7 separate regions of the Homo sapiens genome follow, and all the other regions are linked to region 1. The links are contacts of gene promoters, found by promoter capture Hi-C in blood cells and fetal thymus (Javierre and others, 2016). All regions are on one chromosome and are shown on one strand. Each heading gives the region's core, a stretch centred on a gene start or on the middle of the fragment in contact. The rest is flanking DNA. Distances are from core to core; before and after follow the strand shown. Region 1 holds the start of KRT33B (keratin 33B). Region 2 overlaps LOC105371777 (a long non-coding RNA gene). Region 3 overlaps LOC107985072 (a long non-coding RNA gene). Region 4 overlaps KRT23 (keratin 23). Region 5 overlaps KRT12 (keratin 12). Region 6 overlaps KRT20 (keratin 20). Region 7 overlaps LOC105371777 (a long non-coding RNA gene).

The links. Contacts are between HindIII fragments. The CHiCAGO score rates a contact against its expected background, and 5 or more counts as called.
Region 2: a contact is called between a fragment that was not itself captured here and the fragment with the promoter of KRT33B in region 1, in 11 of 17 cell types (naive B cells, total B cells, naive CD8 T cells and 8 more). The highest score is 9.9, in naive B cells.
Region 3: a fragment that was not itself captured here is called in contact with the fragment with the promoter of KRT33B in region 1 in 2 of 17 cell types (total B cells and naive B cells); the score reaches 5.4 in total B cells.
Region 4: a fragment that was not itself captured here is called in contact with the fragment with the promoter of KRT33B in region 1 in 10 of 17 cell types (total B cells, naive B cells, naive CD8 T cells and 7 more); the score reaches 9.8 in total B cells.
Region 5: a contact is called between a fragment that was not itself captured here and the fragment with the promoter of KRT33B in region 1, in 7 of 17 cell types (M1 macrophages, naive B cells, megakaryocytes and 4 more). The highest score is 7.3, in M1 macrophages.
Region 6: a contact is called between a fragment that was not itself captured here and the fragment with the promoter of KRT33B in region 1, in 6 of 17 cell types (M2 macrophages, neutrophils, M1 macrophages and 3 more). The highest score is 7.3, in M2 macrophages.
Region 7: a contact is called between a fragment that was not itself captured here and the fragment with the promoter of KRT33B in region 1, in 14 of 17 cell types (M2 macrophages, naive B cells, neutrophils and 11 more). The highest score is 11.2, in M2 macrophages.

What each region holds. Positions count from the first base shown.
Region 1 is chr17:41,368,195-41,371,235 of GRCh38, forward strand. KRT33B (keratin 33B) reads right to left here and starts at 1,619. Exons shown (of 7, transcript NM_002279.5): 1 at 1,209-1,619. The coding sequence starts at 1,556. The HindIII fragment of the contact is 2,505 bases long and covers 224-2,728 here.
Region 2 is chr17:40,913,351-40,916,629 of GRCh38, forward strand. The region is part of intron 1 of LOC105371777 (a long non-coding RNA gene); the gene reads left to right. Among named protein-coding and RNA genes, the nearest start is that of KRT23, 23 kb to the right of the region's middle. The HindIII fragment of the contact is 3,918 bases long and covers 1-3,279 here.
Region 3 is chr17:40,955,522-40,958,934 of GRCh38, forward strand. The region is part of intron 1 of LOC107985072 (a long non-coding RNA gene); the gene reads left to right. It overlaps KRT39 (keratin 39), which reads right to left. Exons shown (of 7, transcript NM_213656.4): 7 at 2,896-3,338. The coding sequence ends at 3,080. Among named protein-coding and RNA genes, the nearest start is that of KRT39, 9.7 kb to the right of the region's middle. RefSeq lists an enhancer at 1,014-2,213. The HindIII fragment of the contact is 4,733 bases long and covers 1-3,413 here.
Region 4 is chr17:40,932,094-40,935,311 of GRCh38, forward strand. All of the region lies in intron 2 of KRT23 (keratin 23), which reads right to left. All of the region lies in intron 1 of LOC107985072 (a long non-coding RNA gene), which reads left to right. Among named protein-coding and RNA genes, the nearest start is that of KRT23, 3.9 kb to the right of the region's middle. The HindIII fragment of the contact is 2,542 bases long and covers 127-2,668 here.
Region 5 is chr17:40,861,132-40,864,621 of GRCh38, forward strand. KRT12 (keratin 12) reads right to left here. Exons shown (of 8, transcript NM_000223.4): 4 at 2,572-2,733; 5 at 2,354-2,479; 6 at 1,992-2,212; 7 at 1,434-1,504; 8 at 172-627. The coding sequence ends at 530. The region is part of intron 1 of LOC105371777 (a long non-coding RNA gene); the gene reads left to right. Among named protein-coding and RNA genes, the nearest start is that of KRT12, 4.3 kb to the right of the region's middle. The HindIII fragment of the contact is 1,078 bases long and covers 1,643-2,720 here.
Region 6 is chr17:40,880,770-40,884,208 of GRCh38, forward strand. KRT20 (keratin 20) reads right to left here. Exons shown (of 8, transcript NM_019010.3): 2 at 1,803-1,885; 3 at 1. All of the region lies in intron 1 of LOC105371777 (a long non-coding RNA gene), which reads left to right. Among named protein-coding and RNA genes, the nearest start is that of KRT20, 2.8 kb to the right of the region's middle. The HindIII fragment of the contact is 6,076 bases long and covers 1-3,439 here.
Region 7 is chr17:40,897,135-40,900,465 of GRCh38, forward strand. All of the region lies in intron 1 of LOC105371777 (a long non-coding RNA gene), which reads left to right. Among named protein-coding and RNA genes, the nearest start is that of KRT20, 14 kb to the left of the region's middle. The HindIII fragment of the contact is 7,559 bases long and covers 1-3,331 here.

The sequences.
Region 1 (3,041 bases), core at 369-2,868:
TTCTTATCTGCTTCTGGCTTCCTGCAATAATTAGGTTACTGGGTATCCAACCCTTCGGTTGGGTGACCAACCATCCCAGTTAACTTAGGACTGAGGGGTTTCTGGGATGCTAAAATGGGAAAAATCCCAGGCAAGCCAGAACAACTTGGTTATCCAACACATTCCACCTGCTAACTTCTCTCCACTCTCCCCTCATATTGCCCTTGTTCATGCCTTTGCAAAAAGCTTCTTGCTGTACCCAGAATGCCCTCACCCACTAGCAAGACCCCTTGTGTAACCCACATACTTAATCAATAACACTTCTTATGACCTTTGTGTGATCATTTTGTTTCCACATCTATCTCCCCTGTTAGACTGTGAGCTCCTGAAGGAAGGAGACTGTCTTACTCAGTACATTATCCCCCACCCCAGCACTGTGCCTAACACTCTCCAACTCTGGGTAAATAAATGAATGATATTCAAATAGCACAACCCCTTTCTGGCATCTAATTTTCCAGATCTACAGAACAGTGGGCAGTCAATTCCCTCCCAGAATCAAGGGCTTGTACAATTGGATATAAACTCCCACTCATCCTTCAAACCCCACTCAGACATTGCCTCTTCTGGGATCCCTCCCAAACCTACACCAGGTATTCAGTCCCAATTCTCTGTGGACTCTTTACTTATATCTACTTCTCTTCCAGAACAGATGGCCCCATATTGTCATCTGTACACATGGCTGCTCTAGAGGATGGTCCATGTGTCTGTAGATATTGCTGGAGTCAACAGCTCTCTTGTGTTGCCATAAATGCTATATTTTGCTACAGCTTTGAAAGGCTTTAAATATTTGAAGATTTACTTAGGAAATTCTTAGCATAGAAAATAATTCAGGTGCATACTTTTTGAAAATGCGGTAATGCTCTGAAAACAAAACCAGGGTATCATAATCAAACCAAAAAATCAGATATTCTGGTTTGGAGTAAGACGCCATATAAGATTGCTATGACTGATTTTGGTCTAATGCTTCACTCTAACACCAGCCTGCATCCTTCCTTTGTGGCTCTACAACAGATTTTCTAAGACTACTTGATGTCATACCTAAGCCAGTGAATCTATGTCTTTATCATTCTCAGCATTACTGTGAACAGACTTAGATCCATTCACAGTTTAGTATGTCAAATATAGATAAGTAGTTCATTAAGCTGGCAGTGTGGTGCCCACCTCCTCACCTTCTGCTGGAGCTCCTCAATGGTCTTGAAGTAGGACTGGTAGCTGGGGCACAGCAAGGGCTCCTGCTGCTGAGACCGCTCCCGGATGAGGTTCTCCAGCTCCGCGTTGTCCCGCTCCAGCTGACGCACCTTCTCCAGGTAGCTGGCCAGGCGGTCGTTCAGGAACTGCATAGTCTCCTTCTCGCTGCCATTGAAGGAGCCCTCGCAGAACCAGTTGCAGTTGCTCACATTGGCAGGGATGTTGCAGGCCCCGGGCAGGGTGTAGCCGTGGCAGCTGGGGGGCACACAGGGCCGGGAGGAGCAGCTGGTGCGGCAGCTCAGGCTGGGCAGGCAGAAGTTGTAGGGCATGGTGCAGGGAGGCAGTGGAGCTCTGGAAGTCAGTTTCAAAACCTGATTCCTTTTCCCTGGGATAAGCCTTGGTCCTTTCCAGGGCTTTATATTCTGTTAGCAGTGGGTGTGGCAACCATGTCAAGTATTCCTCCTTTTTACCTCCTTTGCTGATTTTTCCATTTGTTATTTAGCCACTTCACCTGAGTCCTATACCTCATTAAATGTTTTACTCTGGCTTCTTGCTAAGTCAGGACTCCTCACAAAACATGCTGATTGGTTAAGTAAGAGCTTCATGGTTTGGCTTCAAAGTGACCAACCTTGCCTGTAGCAGTGCTTATCCATGGGACATTGAGCTAGAGTGACAGCTGGGCCCTGTCCCCAGAGTAGGGGGCACATATGTGCCTCTTTCTCCTAAATGAGGAAAGGCTTGTGTCTCATCCAGTTCATATTCAATTAAGACTCTGTGAGAAAAGCCATGTAAGGAAACCCGTCTAGAAACTAGACTATGTGATAGGGAATCCTGGAAGCTGAAATGAGAAAGGACTTACAAGGCCATTGGTTCAAGGCCCATTTGCAGTTCCATCCAGGCAGATGGAGGCAACTCTACCCTCTTCCTATGGGGCTGCAGGAAGCCACCCACCTCCGTTTCTACTAGTATTCAGTGTTCACAGAACATTAAGAAACCTAAATTTTGGGAGCACCTACTCTGCATGAAGCACTGTGCTCCATGCCTGTGCACAGCGTGACTCTGTCATTGGTGATGGGTCCTGCTTGCTGAGCCTCCACTGTGCACCAGGCACAGTGCCAGGCACCTCATATGCACCAGCTCCTTCAGTCCTCTCAAAATGCTGCAAGGGTTTGTAGATAAGGACCCTAAGCCTCTGAGAGGTCTCCCAAGGTCACAGAGCTCCTACATGATGGAGCCAGGGTTCAAATACAGATCTCTCTAATTCCAATGTCCACACTCTGTCATATTACATGTCTCTCTCTTCCAATCTTTTCAGTACTGAGATGCAATAATGCAAAAAATACAGATTGAGCTCCATTGAGCTCAATCAGTGCTGACAATATCCTAAATTAGAATGGGCCAAAAAATAACAAGCCTGTTTTTTACTTATTAAAGAACCAAAAGTCACTTCTATGCTGAAGGAAGGAAGTTTACTAAGTGAAAATGCCTCATACCCACTAGAAGCTTGAAAAAAAAAAAAAAAGGAAACCCTTGGTTGATCTGAGGGAGAAATACCCAAGCCTAGCTCTCCAAAGGATATGACCCTGAAAATCCACCACTATGTCATGTGCATGAAGTGGCATTTTATGACCATTGGCACATTTTGGCAAGCAGATGCTCTACTCTCATGCATTCCAGATGGAACTATGAAATATGAGGATTTTATGTTTAATCTATCAGTGCTCAAATTCTGAAAGATACTCCTCCAAGTTGTTCCTTTTGGAAGCTACATATTAAGTCTTGCCATACAAGAATTCTTTTCCTACAGGTGACCT
Region 2 (3,279 bases), core at 155-2,654, 460 kb before region 1:
TCAGCCTCCCGAATAGCTGGGACTACAGGCACCCGCCACCATGCCTGGCTAATTTTTTGTATTTTTAGTAGAGACGGGGTTTCACCGGGTTAGCCTGGATGGTCTCCATCTCCTGACCTCGTGATCCACCCGCCTCGGCCTCCCAAAGTGCTGGGATTACAGGCATGAGCCACTGCGTCTGGCTGTTGTTTTTATTCTTAAAACTTCAGCCATCATTTGGTTCACTGAAGAAAGAAATGGCCCTTGAAGAGAATTTAGAAAGATTTTTATAAGTGAATACTCACTTATACATAAATATAGACGTATATTTTTTAGTGCTAGTTAGCTAACACAATAGACAATCCTGGACAAGTGTTTTCCATCCTCTCCTGTGAATCTGATTTGTGAACCTCTCATAGCTTTTACTACGCATGGAGTCCAGGAAAAATTTGGGACAAAGTGATCGATCTTAATTTCTAGACTTCATTCTGTCTTCTGTTCTTGGTGAGAACCTAAGAAACATCTTCCTTCCAGGCCTGACTTAGTGCTCTTGCAGGTTTAGCTTGCTTGGAGCAAGACTGTGCTAGTGGGATTCTAACGATGCCACCTTTCCTGCTGTGTTGTTTATCCTGTTCAGTTGATAGAGGACCTATTGAGACTGGTTTATAGACACGACACTCACTGTGGGGAATGCATCGAATTGCTAATTGATCAAAATCACCCATAATCTTGCGACTCGTGGATCAGCAGCCTTAGCATCCTCTGGGAGCTTGTTAGATGTCCAAAATCTTGGGCCTCAACCCAGAACAATTAGATCAGAATCTGCATTTTAACAAGATCCCCATATGATAAGTATGCACATTAAGATTTCGGAAGCACTGACATATAAGGCTTGGGACTGGGTGGTGACCTGAAACTACTGCTTCCTAGGGTGCTGGGGATGATACATGAACATTTTCACAATATTTTTTTTGTGATGAATCTCTGGATAAAATATTCTCAGCTGATGACTGTTGATGGTATTGGGTGTATCTGTGGCCTGTCCATTATTACTACCCTGTCTTTGTCTTTCTTGTCCTATCATATTCTGTGAGTGTGTGGGGAAAGAAAATTTTGATAGAAAACAGGAGTGAGTGTGGAGTCTAACTGGACAGGTTGGGGTCTGAGGTCCTCCAGGTTTGGAACTTGCTAAACTCTCTCAGGGAAGCAATCATCGTCCCTGATGCTGATTCGTTTTAGGCTAAAACAAGTTAAGAACACACCTCTGTATGAAAGCAGTGGATGCTTTGAGGTTTGATTAATGAGAAGGTAGCTTTTGGTTATAAAAACCTGTCCTCTGGTCCTGAGTGTCTATTTCTGACTCATGGATCTTGTCAGAACAAGATCCAGGTAAATGATGTCAAACTACCAATTGCCTCTGAAAAATATGAGTTCTGATTTTCAAATAGAAAATCCAGATTTCTCATACCTGGGCTCTTACCTTAGATAAAAGCCATCAGCAAGGGCTCATCAAAATGTGTTGCCCATATTCAGATTTTACATAACTCTCTAGCAAGCACTTTTGACTTGTGTGGCACAAAGAGTAAATATACTGGGTACAAATTCTGTTTCCACCATTTTATAGCTGTATGACCACAGGCAAGTTAATGCAGTCCATTTGAGCCTCAGTTTCCCCAATCATAAAATAAAGATAATGATATGCCACAAGGTTTTGATAAATGTTAAATGAGATTGTGAATGTAAAGCTCAGTCAAGGATAGTTGTTATTTAAAAAACTTCTGGTACATGTGTGTGTATGTCAATGCATACATGCTATGCTGCGTATGCATACCATGGAATTAGCAAAAATTGACTTGTAGTTTCTATTAGATGACTCATAATTTTATTAGATGAATTCCCATTTAAATTTCAATGGGAAGTTTGGGTGAGTAGGACAACCCATGTACTGAAATAGTTACACACACACACAAAGTTCAAGGTAAAACTTCTGAGTATGATTAGATCATCAGATCGTTAGGTATGTGAGAAGCACTGTCTTTTCCTTTTTGCATGATCTCACCTCCAGTATATTTTAGAAACTCTCTAACTCTCTTCAGAGAGATGGTGACACGTAGATGTTGTAATAGAATAGATGAGATGGGAATGAGTCACACATGGGAATGAAAGTAGGCCTATAGTCATTCGGAAAACCAATGTTGTTACCATAGGGAAATAACCAACAAAATACTTCAGGTGATATGTAAACACCAAAAATCTGAAAAGTATTTATTGATTAAAAGCTGTAGAAAAGTATAGCATTTAGAGTATAGCATTGTGAATAATCATGGCTAGAATAAATGAATTATACTCTTAATGACTTTTAAATATTATGACTAGAAGCTACGTAATAATTATGATCACCTTAATTTGTAAATGACTTATAGTTTCTTGGTGAGGGAGAACATTGCTTAACTATGTTGAAAAGAGATCTCCTTTCAGTGAAACTGTTGGTTTGTGTGGTATTGGAGGCATAAATATTTGTAGAGAAATTGTTAATGTCCCTGGAATGAGGAACTAAAAGAGAGTCAAAAGGAATTGAAACTCAACGAGAAGAAAAAGAATTTCCTTGGGCATCCCAGCATGCTTAAGTGAGGAGCAGGGGATGCCCTGACTTCAGGTTGGAGCTACACTGCTTGGTCCCACTTGGGAAGGAGCAGAGAGGAGAGCTGTGAACATCATGTGCAATGGCTTTACTCTTTACCATCTCTGAAGAGGGTAGACCTTTGCTTTTCTCTTGAAAGTTTTGATGTCATCTATTGTTATTAGACCAGGACTTTCATTAGAGGTCCATGTCAGTGTTAAAATGACTAGTATGCTGGTCAAAAGTTTGGTGGGATGCAAATGAACTAGTTCGCCTTAAATCAGCTATTGTCACTGAGCAAATAACAGAGTCTTCTGTTTAAAATACTCTGTTTCACTTGCCTATTGCGGCATGAAAAATGACCCCAAAACTCACTGGCTTAAAACAACCACCATTGTATTTGTTCACAATTATTTTGTGGGACAGAATTTTGGATTCAGAATAGCAGGGATGGCCTGTCTCTGCTCTGTGATGCCTGGGGGCAGTGGCATTGTCTTGAATGGCTGGAAACTGGCTGGAATGGCTTGACTCAGTCATATGCCTGGAGCCTCAGTTACAGCTGTTGCCTGGAGCTTCAGTTATGGCTGTTGCCTGGATTCCTCAGCTTTCCTTGGTGTGGGCTCTCCAAGAGGCTAGCTTAGACTTCCTCACAGTATGGTGTCTCAGGGTAATTGAACTTC
Region 3 (3,413 bases), core at 266-2,765, 410 kb before region 1:
GCACACACTTCAGCTGAGACTTTTGTTAAAATTTGGATTCCCAGGTCCCACAGCTGGAGATGCAGATACAGGAGGTCTGGGGTAAGGCCCAGGAATCTGAATGATACAGACTCCCCTATTAATGCAATTGCAGGTGGCTTCTGGGTCACACTGGAGAAGTTTTGGCGGGACGTCAGGTAAGGGGTTACCACTAACTGAACTCTGGAGGAAAAGTTTCTGGGTAGTCTCTTCTGATCAGCAATTGCTGGAATTGGCTCTGGGAAGTAAGGATGCAAAGGGTGTGGGCTGTGTGATGGGGGCAGGTGATGGGGGACAGTTAAGGGGTGAGAGGCAAGGAGAAAGGGGGAAGCGTGGTTACTTACCTCTGTGTTTGGAAGAGTTTAAACTAGCTATGACATGAAGTGGAGTCAACAAGAAGAAAGGAAAAAAATCTAGAAAAAATATATCTAAAATATCTCCCTTTTTAAGAAATATAATTATGGACCCTCAGAGTGAGAAGCAGAGATATAGGATTTGACCTCAGGCTCTGGACACCATGCTGTGTTTCCTGATTCATGGTTGTCTTTCGAACTGTGCTAAAATTACACTTTCCCTCCCCACGAGCCCCTTTTCTGCTCTAGCTGCTGACTTATGCTGAACTGTCATAAAACCTTAAATTTCCTCCTGTGGCTGTGTAGGATACTTATTTAGCCTCCTAGTAAAAATCCAGTCTCCTTATTGCCTTTAAAAGTTTTGACCACATGCATACAACCAGCAAATGGTTTTACATTCTCTTATACGAAGAAGACACTTAAAAAAAAAAACAAAACTGCAAGCCTTCGAGTGGCTAACTCCCCTCTTTACTGTGCAGCTTATAATCATATATTTTTTAAAACCATGAATGGCATGGGGGATATTTTGCTCTCCATAGGAGGAAGGCATCCTACTTCTAGGATAAACTGAAAATGGCACTGCTGCATCAGTTCAATCTTAGCTTGAGTCCAGTGAGATTCCTCAACCCTAATTTTGTAGCTCGGAGCAGATTTTAGTGTGGATGATATATATCAAGGTCCACCTGGGCCCAGCACTGAACCAGAAAGAAAGGAAGAAGGTATTGATGGAAACGACATGTGTCTAGGTTTAAATATAGGGAATAGGAATGCCCTTCTGCAAAGCACCTTACAGTTTATGAGACCCTTTCACCATTATTATTCCATTTTATCCTTGCAGCCGTGTGGTAGGCAGGGCTTATATTGTTATATCCTATTTACTCGAGGTCATACATGCCCAGGCTGGATTGAGACTCCGTCCCAAGGTTTCTGAATCCCAGTTCCATGCTCTTTCCACATTTTCATCCTGCAGCCTGAGATAGTACGCAGTTAACTACTGACCGGAGGTACTCTGCCCACTCAGATGAGAGAGAAATTATTGATTTAAAAGAGGTCATTCTGGGAGTTCTGCATTCCACTTGCCTAGTGTAAGTTGCTACTTGTCTGGAGGAAGTAAATCATCAAGCTGTAAGTTACACAATGCATGTGTCTTTGATGTGGGCATCAGGCATTATTGACTCATTGATATGCGATACATACCCTAAGAACTGAAAAATGCTTTATTGAGTAGAATTGTGGGCCTGATCACAGGAAATCATGTTTTTTTTTCTCCTAAAAGTTAAACACTATTAAAACTCCAAAATCATGACTGGATAACTAAATTCATGAAGAAAGAATTTTAAAATGAGATAATTACAAAAATAGGTCTAGGGCTGTAGCTAAAAGCAAAACTTACATAAAAATTACATTGGGTGGTGCTTTTCAGCATTCAAAGCAGTGTCACATAAACAATTTCATTTGATCATCACAACAACCCTGTGAAGTAGGCATGATCCTCATTTAACAAACACAGAAATTAAATTTGATGAAGTCTAAATGTTTTCCCCAAGGTCACAGCTGGGAAATGCAGGTGTAGGACTTCAGGCCTTTTGACTACCCATCTGTGTTTGATTTTGAATTATTTCTTAAAACCTCTGGCAATGTCCAATGATTATTGTCAGGAATGACTTACATATTCTGAGACTATCCTGTAAGAAGCTGTGATGATGGCTGGTATATAAATGATGCCTTCTCACATTGGGACTGCCTTGCACTTACAAGCAGCAATTATTCACTATTGCTTTTCTGCAAAATGTGTGGATATTATGTCCATTTACTCTGATGGATAGATTGAAGCAGGAATCTAAGCTATGTTTTTCTTTGTCACTCTTCACAGGGAGGGGAAGAAGGGTTATTTCTTGAGAATTCCAGCTAAATGTTCCTTGTCAAACAATCAGAACAAACTCCCATTCCCTAAAGAATAGAAAGAGAAATAGCAAATGTTTAATGAAAAGACCCATGCTATTTCTTCAAAGTGTTCTAGATTCACTCCCCACAACTTATCTGATTCTCAAATAAAATATTTGGAGAGCCTAATAGGTCACAAAGTTTTGGAGACCATGGACATTTAAAAAAATATCTTTGGAAAGGTAAAGTATGTTAGTATAGATAAATCATAATTAAGACAGCAGAGTTTAATAGGATCCATACTCGTGACTATCTACACAAGTGAATTAAATATTAAAGATCTTTTCCCCTATTTATACTGTTCCCATATATGTTTCTTTCTGTATCCAAAGACATTTAGAAGGGAAGGTTGTAGCTTTTCACCTTCAGGTGCCGGTGGCCAAAAACAACCCTAAACTTGTCTGACTGGCTCTAAGGAGGAATGTCGGTAAACAAGGCCTGAGTAAACAAGAGAGAGACCTGCCCATCAATCACCTGGGTAGTCAAGCAATGTAGGCCATCTTCCTGGGTGCTTACAAATCAGTTCCCATCCCTCAGATAAATGCAAAACATCCTTCCAGAGAAATGTAATTTATTATCATGTTAGCAGTGGTGAGTTAGGGAAGGAGCAGAATAAAAGATATTCTACCTAGCAATGGGGACCCGCTGTAGTAGTAAGAAACTAAGTACCTTAAGGGACTGGGGAGTTTTCTTAAACCTCTCTGGCAGGAGCATGTATTGGCCTCTGTTTCATAAATGTGGGTCATTTTCATCACCTTGGGATGTTAGACTTTGGCAGGTCTGATGATGAAACAAGGCTGCACATGCTCGTAAGAAGAAATGACCTTCCCATCCTTAATCTCCTTGGTGATGGTGCAAATTTTAACCAGTATCCGGGACAGGGGTCCGCAGGCACTGCAGTGCTCCTTTAAGCTGCAGGGGGATGAGGATGTGCAAGCTGGGGCCGTGCTTTCTATGGCTCCGGACTTACAAGATGTCCAAGGGGAAGGCTCACATTTGGTGGCACGTGGGTAACAGGGACGCCTAAGGAAAAAAAACACAATTTTAGCTGTGATTGAGGGAAGGCGATGATGGTCATGGAGAAAAATGATTGTGGCT
Region 4 (3,218 bases), core at 148-2,647, 440 kb before region 1:
GAAGTGACTGTAACTTGAAGGTGTGTTTATGTCATTGCAACTTATTCTGTGATGAGAATGTGCTCATTGTAGCTATTAAAATATTAACTGAAATAATTCCTTACCATCTAAGGAAAATGCTTAAGAAGCTTCAGTAGTGGTAAAGCCTCCAGTTAAAGACTTTCACTAGATGTTCGTATAATTTTTTTTTTACTTTGAAAAGAAAAATAGTATTGAAAGCACTTACTCGAGCAAGTGTGTATACATTTATGATTTGTAAACACTTGTAGGTATGTTATAGTCAGAGAAATAGCACACATTTGATGTATGTCACTGTCTTTAGGGTAGAAGATGTCTCGTTGTCAAAAGTGTAATAATGCTTTTACGCCAAGTGTTGTGCTGGACTAGAAACTTAGAGCTTTTCTTTGGTTCTGGCTCTGTTCTTGACCATCCATGTGGATGCATCAGGCTGCATCACTCTACTCTCCAGGCCTCAGTTTCATCCATTGTCAAATAAGGAGTCTGTACTAGAGACAGAGGACCTTAGAGGTCTTAGCTCTAAGTTTCTGTAATTTAGTTGGAGTCAGAGAATCCTGGGTAATTCCCATTATATTTACATAGCTCATTCCTTTATTTAGAAAGCATTTTCTTAGGACAAAGCTATACTTCAGTACAAAGGCACCTTTTAAAAGTCTGGTCCTATTTAAAGCTCCACTGATCCCATGGAATTTGGTATCATGAATGCACAATAGCAGGATTTAGAGATGGCATGAATGCTGGGTCTGGAACTCAAAGAGCAGGGCCTGGGATCCTGCTCCGCGCTTACTGGCTGGGTGAGATTGGCTGAGTGAGCTTGGCTGAGTCTCAGTTTATTCATCCATAAAATAGCAATAACAATAGTTACTTCATCAAAGAGTTATGAGAATTAGAAGAGAGTATGTCAAATAATGTCAAATAGCATATTATCGGCATATTATAGACAGTGAAAAATTGGTCGAAACTGAATTTGTTCAGAAAAAAGTAAATAATACACCTTTCTTTTTAAAAATCTAGCACTTTTATAGATTCAGTGACTACACTGTGAACATCCCCAGGTTCTATATGCTGAGATGCCTGCTCAGACTTTTGCTGTTCATGGTGGGACATAGCCAGGCTGGCTGCTCCTGCCTCATTCTTTTTCCTCTTGTGGGATTCCAAATGGTACTATGGCCCCTTCCCTTGCTATAAAGAAGGACACTTTTAGATATTTCCTTGTCTCCTCTCCACAGTGCTGCTTAGGGGCATTCTTACCAATACTTCTCCCTCCAGACCCCTTATTCTTTGCATTATGTAAGCTCCTGCAAAATGAAAAGTAGCTCTATCCCAAAGAGCCTGGGGGCCATTGTGGGGTAACCCTTACTTACTTGTGCACTGAGGTTTTCTATTTGACACACACTATGAGGTGTTAATCTACATCCAGAGAATCAGAAAATCAAAAATACTGTCTATGGGCTTATTTAGCTTTTCTGGGTTAAATTGGTAATTTATCCATTGCAAAGTCCACCTCAAGTGTCTGATTCCCCCAGCTATCATTCTCATAGCACACAAATGTGAATTCTGAAATGTGCTTGATATAGAGCACGTTTAAAACTATTTCCCATTATTCAGGCTTACTTAGTACAGAATTATGATATAACCATCATTTCTGACACAATCTTCATGGTAATAAGTGGATGAAGATGGGTTGAGAAACGATATATGAGGCATAGGTTTTTTACTGAGTGTTGTAATTAATCACCCAGATTCTCCTGAAGGCCCTCAGTTCATTCTTTTAAAAGCAAGTTGGCATATTCTTGCAGCATTGTTGCTTCAGGATGTTTGATCTACTAGGGAGAGGAAAACAGAATGTTTGACTGTAAACAAAAATGCCAAATATAGTCCGATTGAGAATCATTCAAGGTGTTTTATTTATGATACTCCTATGACTGTGTCCAATTCTGGATTTCAAAAGGATTGAATTAATTTTTAAGCTCAACTTGTTATCAACCTTTTGAGTGATATTTAATATACCTAAAGTGAGGGTACGGGAGAACTGTATCCACTCAGAGCATTTCACCAAGGTCCAGGAAGGATAAGCCCCAGGTAATTGTGGGACCTCCTTGCACCTCTGTTTTCTCATCTTCAAATGAGGGAGGTTGGGGTAGATAGACAACCTCAACTTTAAAGAGTTTCTTTCTTCAAGTGTAGAGAAAACACAATGTTAGAGGTAAAAATCCAGAAAAGAGTGAAATTCAAAGCCAAAGAAGTTTCCTATTCAATCTCAGAACCCAGAATTCCAGGTCATCTGAAGGGTGGGCAGGTTGCTCCCCACACCCCCCATTGCACCTACTCACTTTTCTCAATTCTGTTCCAAAGGATTTAGACAATGATTAGGTCTCAGTCTCCTTATCTGTAAGTTGAGAATACAAATACCTGCTCCACACAGTTGTGAGGATTAAATGAGACAATGTGTATGAAGTATGTGATGTGTGGTTAATGATGCAAGTATAATGCATTATCTTTATTCATACTAAGTGTCATTTTTATATGAGGTGGGCTAGGCAGCACTACACTGTAGTGAAATTTATGAGGCTACTGGAAACAGACCTGAGTTAGAATCCCACCTCTGCTTCTTGCTGATGGCTTTGGATGGCTATTTCACTTTTTTCCAAGCTTCCATTTCCTTACAGGGTTCTTGCAGAATCAAATAAAATAATATGGAACATTTCCATCATTGCAGAAAACTCTTGGATAGTGTTGACATGTGTATTAAATATCCAGCAGGATGCCTAGGTACATAATAAGTGCTCAGTAAACATTTCCCTCTCTTTCCTCCCTTTCTTTTTTTTAAATCTCTTCCGCGAGCTCATAAATTATTTGACTGGTTCTAACCTTGTATTTCTTTTGGGAGTCATGGTCTCCCTTTGCTCTCCATTTGCAAAAATCTTCAATTCCTCCTTTCTACAACCAAAGCAACTTTATTAAACAAAAAAACATGATGAGGACTGTTGAGTCACCTTGTTTTTTTTTTTTTTTCATAAAGACAACCATGCACTATATAGTTAAGGTAATTACAGTCAGTTATTAGGTTGATTATTCAATAATTAGGGTTCATTACAAGGACAGATTTATATTATCTTGACTGGTCCTTCCTACATTCAAGCAAGGATGACTGAGCATTGTGAAATAATATATATAAATATTGGAAACTTGTGATACCC
Region 5 (3,490 bases), core at 932-3,431, 510 kb before region 1:
TGGTCTTGAACTCCGGGCCTCAAGCAATCATCTTGCCTCTCAGCCTCCCAAAGTGCTGGGATTATAGGTGTGAGTCATTACTCCCAGCCTCTATTTTATTAGTAGTATTTCAAAAACTTCTCTCTATGCTCTTGACATTCTTGTTGGAATCAAGGCATACATTTCACATTATTACCATTCATCTTTTATTACAATTAACTCTATTAAAACAATACTACTTGATTAAAGCTCTATGATTAAAAAATATTCCGGGTTACCAGAAGAAAGTTCGTTAAAAGACTACTCCAGGTCCAGAAGGATATAAGGTAATTTTGATTTGTTACAAAGACCAACATGACCAAAATGACTTGTGACTGAATATTGTTTCAGAAGGGCAAAAAGGATTCAATGTGAATAGGGAATCCAAAGAAAATGGAACAGACAAAAATAGGGATTGAAGTAATACAGCATGTTACTCTGAAAGGAATAATTTCTACTTGTAAATTTCTTGTTCCTAAGGAACCAATCATGGGGCAGATCTTGTGAAATTTTACATTAGTTCTTCAATTTCCTGAACTTGAGATGAGACCACCTCACCATTCACCATCTCCTGCACAACTGTCTTGATTTTTCGGGTTTTGGTTGGGTCTAAAGATAAAAATGGAATAAGGGGGCAAGAGTTAGTGTTTCAAATATTAATCCAACACTGGTTGTTTAATGTAGGCTTCTAAATTAAGCATTGGTTGATACAATCCATCTAATTAAACTTTCAAAAGTAAATTTTACTTCTCAAAAATGTGTTTTAGCCAATGACAATGAAATGTATTCAGTGTTGCCTTGTACATATATGAAAACTTTTTTTAAGAAAACATTTCAAAGGTGGTTATGGTGATCATAATACCTTGCAGCAGAGTAGGTTTTTTCCCTTCTGCTTTGCCATTTTTTTTATTTTTTAATTTTAATTTTAATTTTCTTAAAGACAGGGTCTGGCTCTGTTGCCCAGGTAGGAATGCAGTGGCATGATCATAGCTCACTATAACCTCTAACTCCCGGGCTCAAGCGGTCCTCCTGCCTCAGCCTCCAGAGTAGCCGAGATCACAGGTATACACCACCACACCCAGCTATTTTTTTTCTTAAGTTTTTTGTAGAGATGGGGTCTCGCTATTTGCCCAGGTGGGTCACGAACTCCTGGCCTCAAGCGATCCTCCCACCTCAGGTTCCCGAAGCTATGAGGTTACAGGCATGAGCCACCATGCCCAGGCCCCCAAAAGTTTTAATATGGTATAGACTACTCATTTTGTGCAGGAATGCATAAATGTTTTTCCTTGGCTCAGAATATAAATATGCTTTAAATTAAAATTAATAATAATGCAGTAGTCAATGAGGTCTTACAGGTTTTGCATTAATAAATGTGATTCCGACTTATTCTAAGTGATTCTAGGGTTTCTGCATACCTTTAGAGGAATCAGTTGACTGTGCTTGTGATTTGGAGTCTGTCACAAATAAACTTTCCTCCAAACCATCACTGTAAGAAAACAAAGGAGATGACCTCAAAAAGTGAAACAACCTGGCTTTTAATGGAAGATCTGGTCTGAGAAATTAGATTTCCCAATTTGTAGGCCTGAGTTCTTCCAACTAGTGCAGACTCTGATCACTTTTGGAAAGCTTGTTAGAGTAGGTGGTTCAGGTGGCTACTATGTGTCCTTCTTATCATCAGGTCTTTGATATCAGAAATTGAGTAAGTGACTTTTATAGTACAGGGAGTACTCATTTACAAACTGTTTCTGACCGTGGTGCCTTTGTTCTTTGCAGCATTTTATGAATTATCAAGTAAGATAATGGGTGAAAACACTTTGCAAAGTGTAGAGCATTTAGTAAATCCCAGGCATATCTTTACTAGACTTGTGTTTGTTTGTTTGCTTTTCTGTCAACTAAAACCCCATTCCTTCTATTTCTGCTGCCCACTCTTGGTCAGCCCCTGAAGGTGTTTACAGCCTCCGTTGTCTGCTCACCCTTGGGCCTCCCCGTCCAGCAGGCGGCGGTAGGTCTCAATCTCCAGCTCCAGGCGGGCCTTGACATTCAGCAGCCGCTGGTGGTCCACGTTCTGGCGCTCTGCGTCCGCGCGCACCTGGAGCAGCTGTGCCTCCAGGTTGCTGATGAGCTGCTGCACCTGGGACAGCTGCGCGCAGTAATCGCCCTCGGCTTCGGCCAAGGAGTCCTCCAGGGATTTCTTCTGCACGTGGGAGGGAAATGGCATAGAAATAACGATGGAGGGGACCGAAAAGAGGAGGGTAGCCAACGGCTAATGTAATTTGGATGCAGCATTTTCTTTGGAAGTCCAAAGGATGCTACGTCTGTTTGCGCACGAGCCTACCATGGCGAGCTGGGACTGTAGCTCGATCTCCAGGTTCTGAAAGGCGCGACGCAGGTCGGTGACCTCGCTCTTGCTGGACTGAAGCTGCTCGGTGTTGGTGCTAATCTCCTTACGGAGCTCCCCGCTCTGCAACAGCAAAGACAGCCAGGGGGCTCGAGCGCTGAGCTCGTTCGCAGGCCTTTCTGTGAATGTATCAAAGCCTTTGTTGTTTGTGTTACCTTTTCAATGAACCAGGCTTCAGCGTCCTTCCGATTCTGCTCAGCGATGGTTTCATACTGCGCCCGCATATCATTGAGGAGCCTGGTGAGGTCCACTCCGGGGGCAGCGTCCATTTCTACGCTGACCTCGCCTGGGCCGCCCACCCGGAAGCTTTGGAGCTCCTGGGGACAGCATGTGAGAGAGAGGGGCACAGGGGTCCATTGTGACTTTCGTGGGCCCTGGATACTTTTGTCCTCTTGGGCCCCTTCCTACACACACACACACACACACACACACACACACACACACTTAAAAATTCTATCTTATGACTGTTGGTATAAAGACAAATATATTAATGTAATACATTAAAACTTTTTTAACCTCAAAATTCATATTTTTCTTCTGATATTACAAGAACTTAAGACATATTCATGGGTCCCTGAAATTACCACAGACCCTGGGAGCAGTGCCTGCTGTGCCTAATGGGTAAGTTGGCTCTGCTTCTTGAGGGACCACGACCTTCACGTGAAAGGAGGCCTGGCGTACACTCACTGGGGTTTTCACCTACAGCTGCCAAACCGAGGGCTGCAGACAGTACCTGGGCTTGCACGCTGTTTGTGCCACAATCATCGAAAATCTAGTAGAAACTTCCTATTGCCAGCATCCCTTCCCTACCTAGCCTCCAATATGCACCATGGCACCTCAGAGTTTTCTGGTGTGCATTATGCTAAGTATAACCAGTTTCTCTGACATATAAAACATTATATATTATTGGTAGACTTTTGTTTTAACTTTTAAAATACTCAGTCTTTTTAAAATCACTGAATTAGGACTGTTAGCATTCCTATTGTCATTGCCTTATAATGAAAATGACAAAATCAGAAAGTGCCTCAAATTTGTTGAGCCTTAGCAGGAACCACCATCACTACTACCAACACA
Region 6 (3,439 bases), core at 107-2,606, 490 kb before region 1:
CCTGTGAATTAATTAGTGTACAGAGATAACTGGTCCTTCTGAAGCCATTATAAGGAGAGAATCTAATATAATGGGATAGGTTTTTAAATGTGGCTTATGAGGAGATCAATTTCAATACTTTATAATGTCTGCCTTTACACAATCATGAAATTTACATAAGAACCTAGGAGTCAGAAAATGTGCTCAATAATATAATCTCTATAATTTGGGGTGACTGGTAAAAAGGCAATCTGAAATAATTTTGAACACTTCTAAATTCTAGAATTTATCTTATAAGAAATTAAATTGTGTTAATTATTGTGTTGGCAAAGGGTTCTTATTATTGATATTAAATAATGGTTAGTTTTACTTAATGAATGTACATGATCGATTTATTTTTATTACTTTGTGAACAGAGACATCCAAAGTGAATTATCTCAAACAGCTCTACATCCTCCTCTACAATCTTACATACACACTGTGTGTGTGTGTGTGTGTGTGTGTGTGTGTGTGTATTTGAGACAGGGTCCCACTCTGTCACTCAGGCTGGAGTACAATGGTGTGATCATGGCTCACTGCAGCCTCAACCTTTGGGGCTCAAGCAATCCTCTCACCTCAGCCTCCCAAGTAGCTGGGACAGCAGATGTATGCCACCATGCCCAGCTAATTTTTTTTGTATTTTTGTATAGAGATGTGGTTTTGCCACGTTGCCCAAGCTGTTCTCAAACTCCAGGACTCAAGTGAGCCTCCTGCCTCAGCCTCTCAAAGTGCTGGGATTACAGGCGTTAGCCATCATGCATGCCCTGCCCAGTTTCCTAAAATATCCAACTTTAAAAAATGACACTGCAATGTGACACTCAGTGCTAGGTAAAATTGGAAGTAATGCACCTTTACTGCTTTCATCTTTGGATTTGATTTCCTATTTCCTTCTTGTTAATCCCTTGGAGCATTAAAAGGCTACCCTTCTAACCACAAAGGGCTTTTTGGTGTTAATGCATTGTACAAATTCAGGATGAAGAGGCCTTAGTGTGGAAGCTGTTTGCAAGGAACAGGTCTGGTCACATGTGGTGTGATGACTACAAAGAAAGTGAACACAATTTTTACTTTCTTTTTCTTTTCTTTCTTTCTTCCTTTTTTTTTTTGAGACAAGGTCTCAGTCTGTTGCCCAGGTTGCAGTGCAATGGCACGATCTCAGCTCACTGAAACCTCCGCCTCCCAGGTTCAAGCGATTCTCCTGCCTCAGCCTCCGGAGTAGCTGGGATTACAGACATACGGCATCACGCCCAGCTAATTATTATAGATTGGTCCTGGTTCTTTGGTTGGCCAGACCATCCTGTAAAACACTGGCAAGCCAGAAATCATCAAGAGTCACCCCTGGAACTTGGGTCATACACTTGCAGGCACTTGAATGAACGTGGAGAATTACTTGGAGAATCACCAAGGGTAGACACAAGACTCTCTTTAGATAACAGAAAGGCACTTAGGGAGAAGGAGAATTGTAAATTACTTTGTTATTACTCCAAAGGGCAGAATTAGGTTTAGATACCAGGTTACTAAAAAAAAATTTAGCAACCAGTAATAACCAAGGAGAATAGTAGTTACTGGAGGTGTTTAGTTACATGCCGGGGGATCAAGAAAGAGAAGGCCATCCCTGAGTGCTGGGTTAGCTTCATACATGTAGCTTCTAACCTCCTTTAGGCTTCAGGATTCTGGACATTGAACCGTGCTTCCTTTATCAACAATGATATGGAAAGCTGAGTATCTGGAAGGACTACTAAAGGAATTCTTTTTCAGAAACTTTTGCCACGTATTAGGGAACCTACTTCAGTCTGAAGTCCTCAGCAGCCAGTTTAGCATTATCAATTTGCAGGACACACCGAGCATTTTGCAGTTGAGCATCCTTAATCTGGAAAATACATGAGAAAGAATGACATTTTCTTTTTTATTTATTTATTTATTTATTTATTTATTTATTTATTGAGACAGAATCTTGCTCTGTTGCCCAGACTGGAGTGCAATGGTACGATCTCGGCTCACTGTAACCTCTGCCTCCCAGGTTCAAGCAATTATCCTGCCTCAGCCTCCCGAGTAGCTGGGGTTACAGGCATCCGCCACCATGCCCGGCTAATTTTTGCATTTTTAGTAGAGACAGCATTTTGCCATGTTGGCCAGGCTGGTCTTGAAGTTCTGACCTCAGGTGATCTGCCTGCCTCGGCCTCCCAAAGTGCTGGGATTACAGGCGTGAGCCACCGTGCCCGGCCAAGAATGACATTTTCAACTGGATAGGAGTTTACAAGGATTTAGTTTATCCCCAGCTACAGTGACTATTATGTCAAAAATGATGTTCATTTCAAGTATTTCTACATGAAAATATATAGAAAAAATAATGACATAGTTATTTAACATAACAGAGTCATAAAATGCAACTCTAGATGCCCCAGGGTTTGGTCTACTTTCTTGTGATTTTACAGAAGGATAATTTAACTCAACTTGAGTCATCACACCTTATTGAGTGCCTTGCCTTTGATGTTTCTACTTAGGACATTTCTTTTAGCCCCTGTGGTCTGGTGAACTCCCATTCCTCCCTCATGTCTCAGGTTCGACAACATTGCTTCATAGGAGCCTTCACAGATGCTCTCAAAACTGAACTGGATGATCTGCCTGTGCTCTCATTATCCCTCTGTGTGCTGGTCCCTCTGTCCATCCCTGTATCCTCATAAATCATATTGTGTCCACCATAATATTCCTCAGTCCCCAGCATGGTGCCCAGCACCTAGTTAGTGTTCATTCAGTATTGGCTGAATGAAAGAACATGATGCATGAAAGAACGAAATGCATGATGGAGGCATATAGATGAAAAATCTACTTGCAGAAGATGTTACAATGACATTTCTCTTTCAATGGACCCAGTTTTGGAGAGGGCTGCTTCCTATGGTTGGGACTGTCCAGCTCAATGGGACGGATGGCCTGTGCCTGTGTATTTCAGATGAACCAAACTAGAGTCAGAAACACGAGACAGGTGTGGTTCGAACATTTTTAGTGAGAGCTTGCGAAGGATGAACTTTATTCCGGAAGGGCTATTTAAATGCCATTGCTTCACATGCCCATAGTTTCTAAAATTCCAAAGTAACTTCCCATGGAGTCCGAATCAAATTGCCCTGATGTTTAGTACAACTCAAGAAAAACAGACTTGCTGGTAAGTAAATGCGCTTTGCTCTAAAGGAGTATGAATCTTAACACAAATTACAGTGAACACTTTTCTTAATTAGATAAGAACTTTAATTTGAAGCAAGTGCTCTGTGTCATATCTGAAATTTTCAATTAGGAGCAAAGTCTTCTGCTTTTATTCCATGAAACTGATAAAATACAGAGCTCCACCCTTTTTTTGATGACATAGGAGGAGGTTGTGATATGATTGTAATAAACATGAATTGGGGGCAATAGAACATTTTATTACTGT
Region 7 (3,331 bases), core at 289-2,788, 470 kb before region 1:
AGCTATCATCTGAAAGCATGGAGTAATTAAGGAGCAATATATTTGTTCCAAGGAACTGACATTAATGTTGACACACGATGTTTCTAGGCAATTTGATCTATACCAATAATTCACTTTCTTCCCTACAGCAGGACTCATTTTGTTCCTAAGTCATTGGAGGCTGTATTAGAGATTTATCTGGTGGCTTTTTAAAAGCACATTATTTACTACAGTGTGTGTTGAGCCACCATTTATGTTTATTGATCGTAATAAGTATGGCATTCAACCAGAATTTGGATTCAGGTTTTTAATATCTAATTTAGATTCTTTCCCTTGATTACACTGACATAGGGCCTTAGCATTGTTAAAACTGAAAAACTATACAGCAAATTTGACCCTAGATACAATGATCAATCAATCGAAGAGCAAAAATGGAAACCAGTTATTCTGGCTGGTCACAATCTCGTATTAAAATGACTGATCTGGGCCTGGCACAGTGGCTCATGCCTGTAATCCCAGCACTTTGGGAGGCTGAGGTGGGTGAATCACCTGAGGTCAGGAGTTCAAGACCAGCCTGGCCAACATGGCGAAACCCGGTCTCTACTAAAAATACAAAAATTATCTCGGTGTGATGGTGGGCATCTGTAACCCCAGCTACTCAGGAGGCTGAGGCAGGAGAATCGCTTGAACTTGGGAGGCAGAGGTTGCAGTGAGCCAAGATTGCGCCAGTGCACTCCAGCCTGGGCAAGAAGAGCGAAATTCTGTCTCAAAAAAAAAAGAAAAAAGACTGAGGTTTGTTATAATGATTATGATCATTTTGTCTTTGCCTTTTTATTTCTTAGTATCCCAGAAATTATCCAACCAACATTTTTGATGTGGAAATGTGAATGAAATCTCTTTTGGTAGAACTACAAGAAAGATTTTAAAGGTCGTATTTTTTCAGTTTTATCAACATGGACTTAGTAAGTAGCATAACGTCATCAGACTGATCTGGTTCAACTTTTATGTTACAGAGTTGTGAGTTGTTGTGAGTTGTTTTTCAGTTCCATGGACCCCCTGAGCATGCCCAGATGAACCAAGTGTGCAGGAACCTAAGTGCTTGGACTAAGGAGTGGGGACTGAATTAAGAAGCGGACACCCCATGGCAGGGTCCAGTCAGATCATGCCTCCCAGCATCACCTCATTGCAGGATCAGATCATCCTCATTACCCTATGGTTATGAAACCTGACCTAGCCTCAAGCTCAGGGAGACAGATTTGAGCATTTCCTTCAGTTTCCTTGTCAGTCTACTCACAATAAACCTTTCTCACTGCCAAAACCCAGTGCTTTGGTGCTTGACTTAACTTTGCCTGAGGGCAAACGGACCTGGTTTGGTTTGGTGACAGTAGTTTGTGTGTTATTTTAAAGCATTGGTGTTTTAAAATTGTACTGAGATATTAATATACAGAGGTAATAATCCCCAAAGTAAAACTATCATCATAAAACCTTTTTGGGATGGAATAGCTCTTTTTTTTTGAGACAGAATCTCGCTTTTGTTGCCCAGGCTGGAGTGCAGCGGTGTGATCTCGGCTCACTACAGCCTCCACCTCCCAAGTTCAAGTGATTCTTTTGCCTCAGCCTCCCGAGTAGCTGGAATCACAGGTGCGCACCACCATGCCCTGTTAAATTTTGTATTTTTAGTAGAGATGGGGTTTCACTATATTGGCCAGGCTGGTCTTGAACTAACCTCAAGTGATCCACCTGCCTTGGCCTCCCAAAGTGCTGAATTGCAGGTGTGAGCCACCGCACCCAGCCTGGAACAGCTCTTTTAATGAGAAAAGAATAAAGTCAATTTGAAAAAAAAAAAAAAAAAAGGCTTCAAACCCGAGCCTGATTCAAACATTTTAAATCTGTCTTTTAAAGACCATTCCAAAACTTATGCTTTTATCATAAAACAATTCATTGGTAATTTATTTTGGATTATTCTTCTGTATTTCTCCTTGTAAGTGTATTTGCCCAGTGTGTTACTCTGACATGCCCCATGTTAGTAGCTGAACCGTTATTAACTATTGATCTATACCAATAATTCGTTTTGTTCCCTACTGCAGGGCTCATTTTGTTACTACATCATGTGAGGCTTTCTTAGAGATGTACCCAGTGGCTTTTTAAAAGCACACATTTTACTACCATGTGCGTCTGGTTACAATTTATGTGTGTGTATGTATGTGTGGGTATATATTACCTATATGCAGTGTATGTATATATACACATATATATGTATATATGTGTTCACAACATTCTGATGTAAAGGATATGTCAGATTTCTATGTTCCTTGATTTAGAGAAAAAAGGTTGATGACTTATTTTTTCCATTTTCTAATTTATTGGGAAATACGATATACATACATTTAACAACAGACCAAAGGAAAAAATGAAAGAATGCCTCCATCCTGGTGTGCATATTCATGTGCTATTCAAAACCACCCCACTTCACTTTTTCCTCTTTTTTCCACTGATGATTCTGAGCACTCTGCTAATGTTATAGATACCCAGGATTGAAAACACAGACTTTAGAGATCTGGACTTGAATCCTATTTCTGCTACTTGCTTGGGCATGGTTCATAACCTCTCTGAGCCTCACTTTCCTCATATGGAAAGTGGAAGACCATAATAATGGCCAGCATGGTGGTGGTGTGAGGATTAAATGAAATGCCATATCTGAAGTGCAGGTACAGCACCTGGCATGTAGGAAGCACCCAGTGAGGTGTAGCTTCTTAGTGGCAGCCGTGATCATAGTAGAAGTACTGTAATTGTAAACTTGGTGGTGGTGGCAAGGAAAAGGCCACTAACATTTACCCTTCAGTATGCACTGAGCTAGTAGCATTGTGTCATGGATGCTCACTGAGCCTGTGCAGCTAGTACAAGGTAAGCTGAAGGACAACCCGGAGGAAAATATAATTGAGAAAACACATGACTACTTTCAAACATTTACAGTGACCCAGAAGTATAAGTGGGAGGAGCCATGAATGATTTACATAGAGGATCCACATCTCAGATATTTATGGATTACTTAAGATAATAGACTGTGTACTGGGCATTGAGGACAGAAAGATGGATAAGACAAGGTCCTGTCTTCCAGTCTTTCCCACTCCTCTGTGTGTGTGTGTGTGTGTGTGTGTGTGTGTGTTTGTGTGTGTGTGTCTGTATTGGGGTGGTGAGAGCCAGAGAAGAAAACCTGATGGATGAGACCATAAGAGATGAACTCACCTCCCTGGGTGATGTCCGGGGCTGGTTCCGTGCTTTTGCCCCAAGGAGTTCATATTGAAATGGAGAGGATGGATAACTCAAGCTCCACCTGACCTCCTAGAAGAGT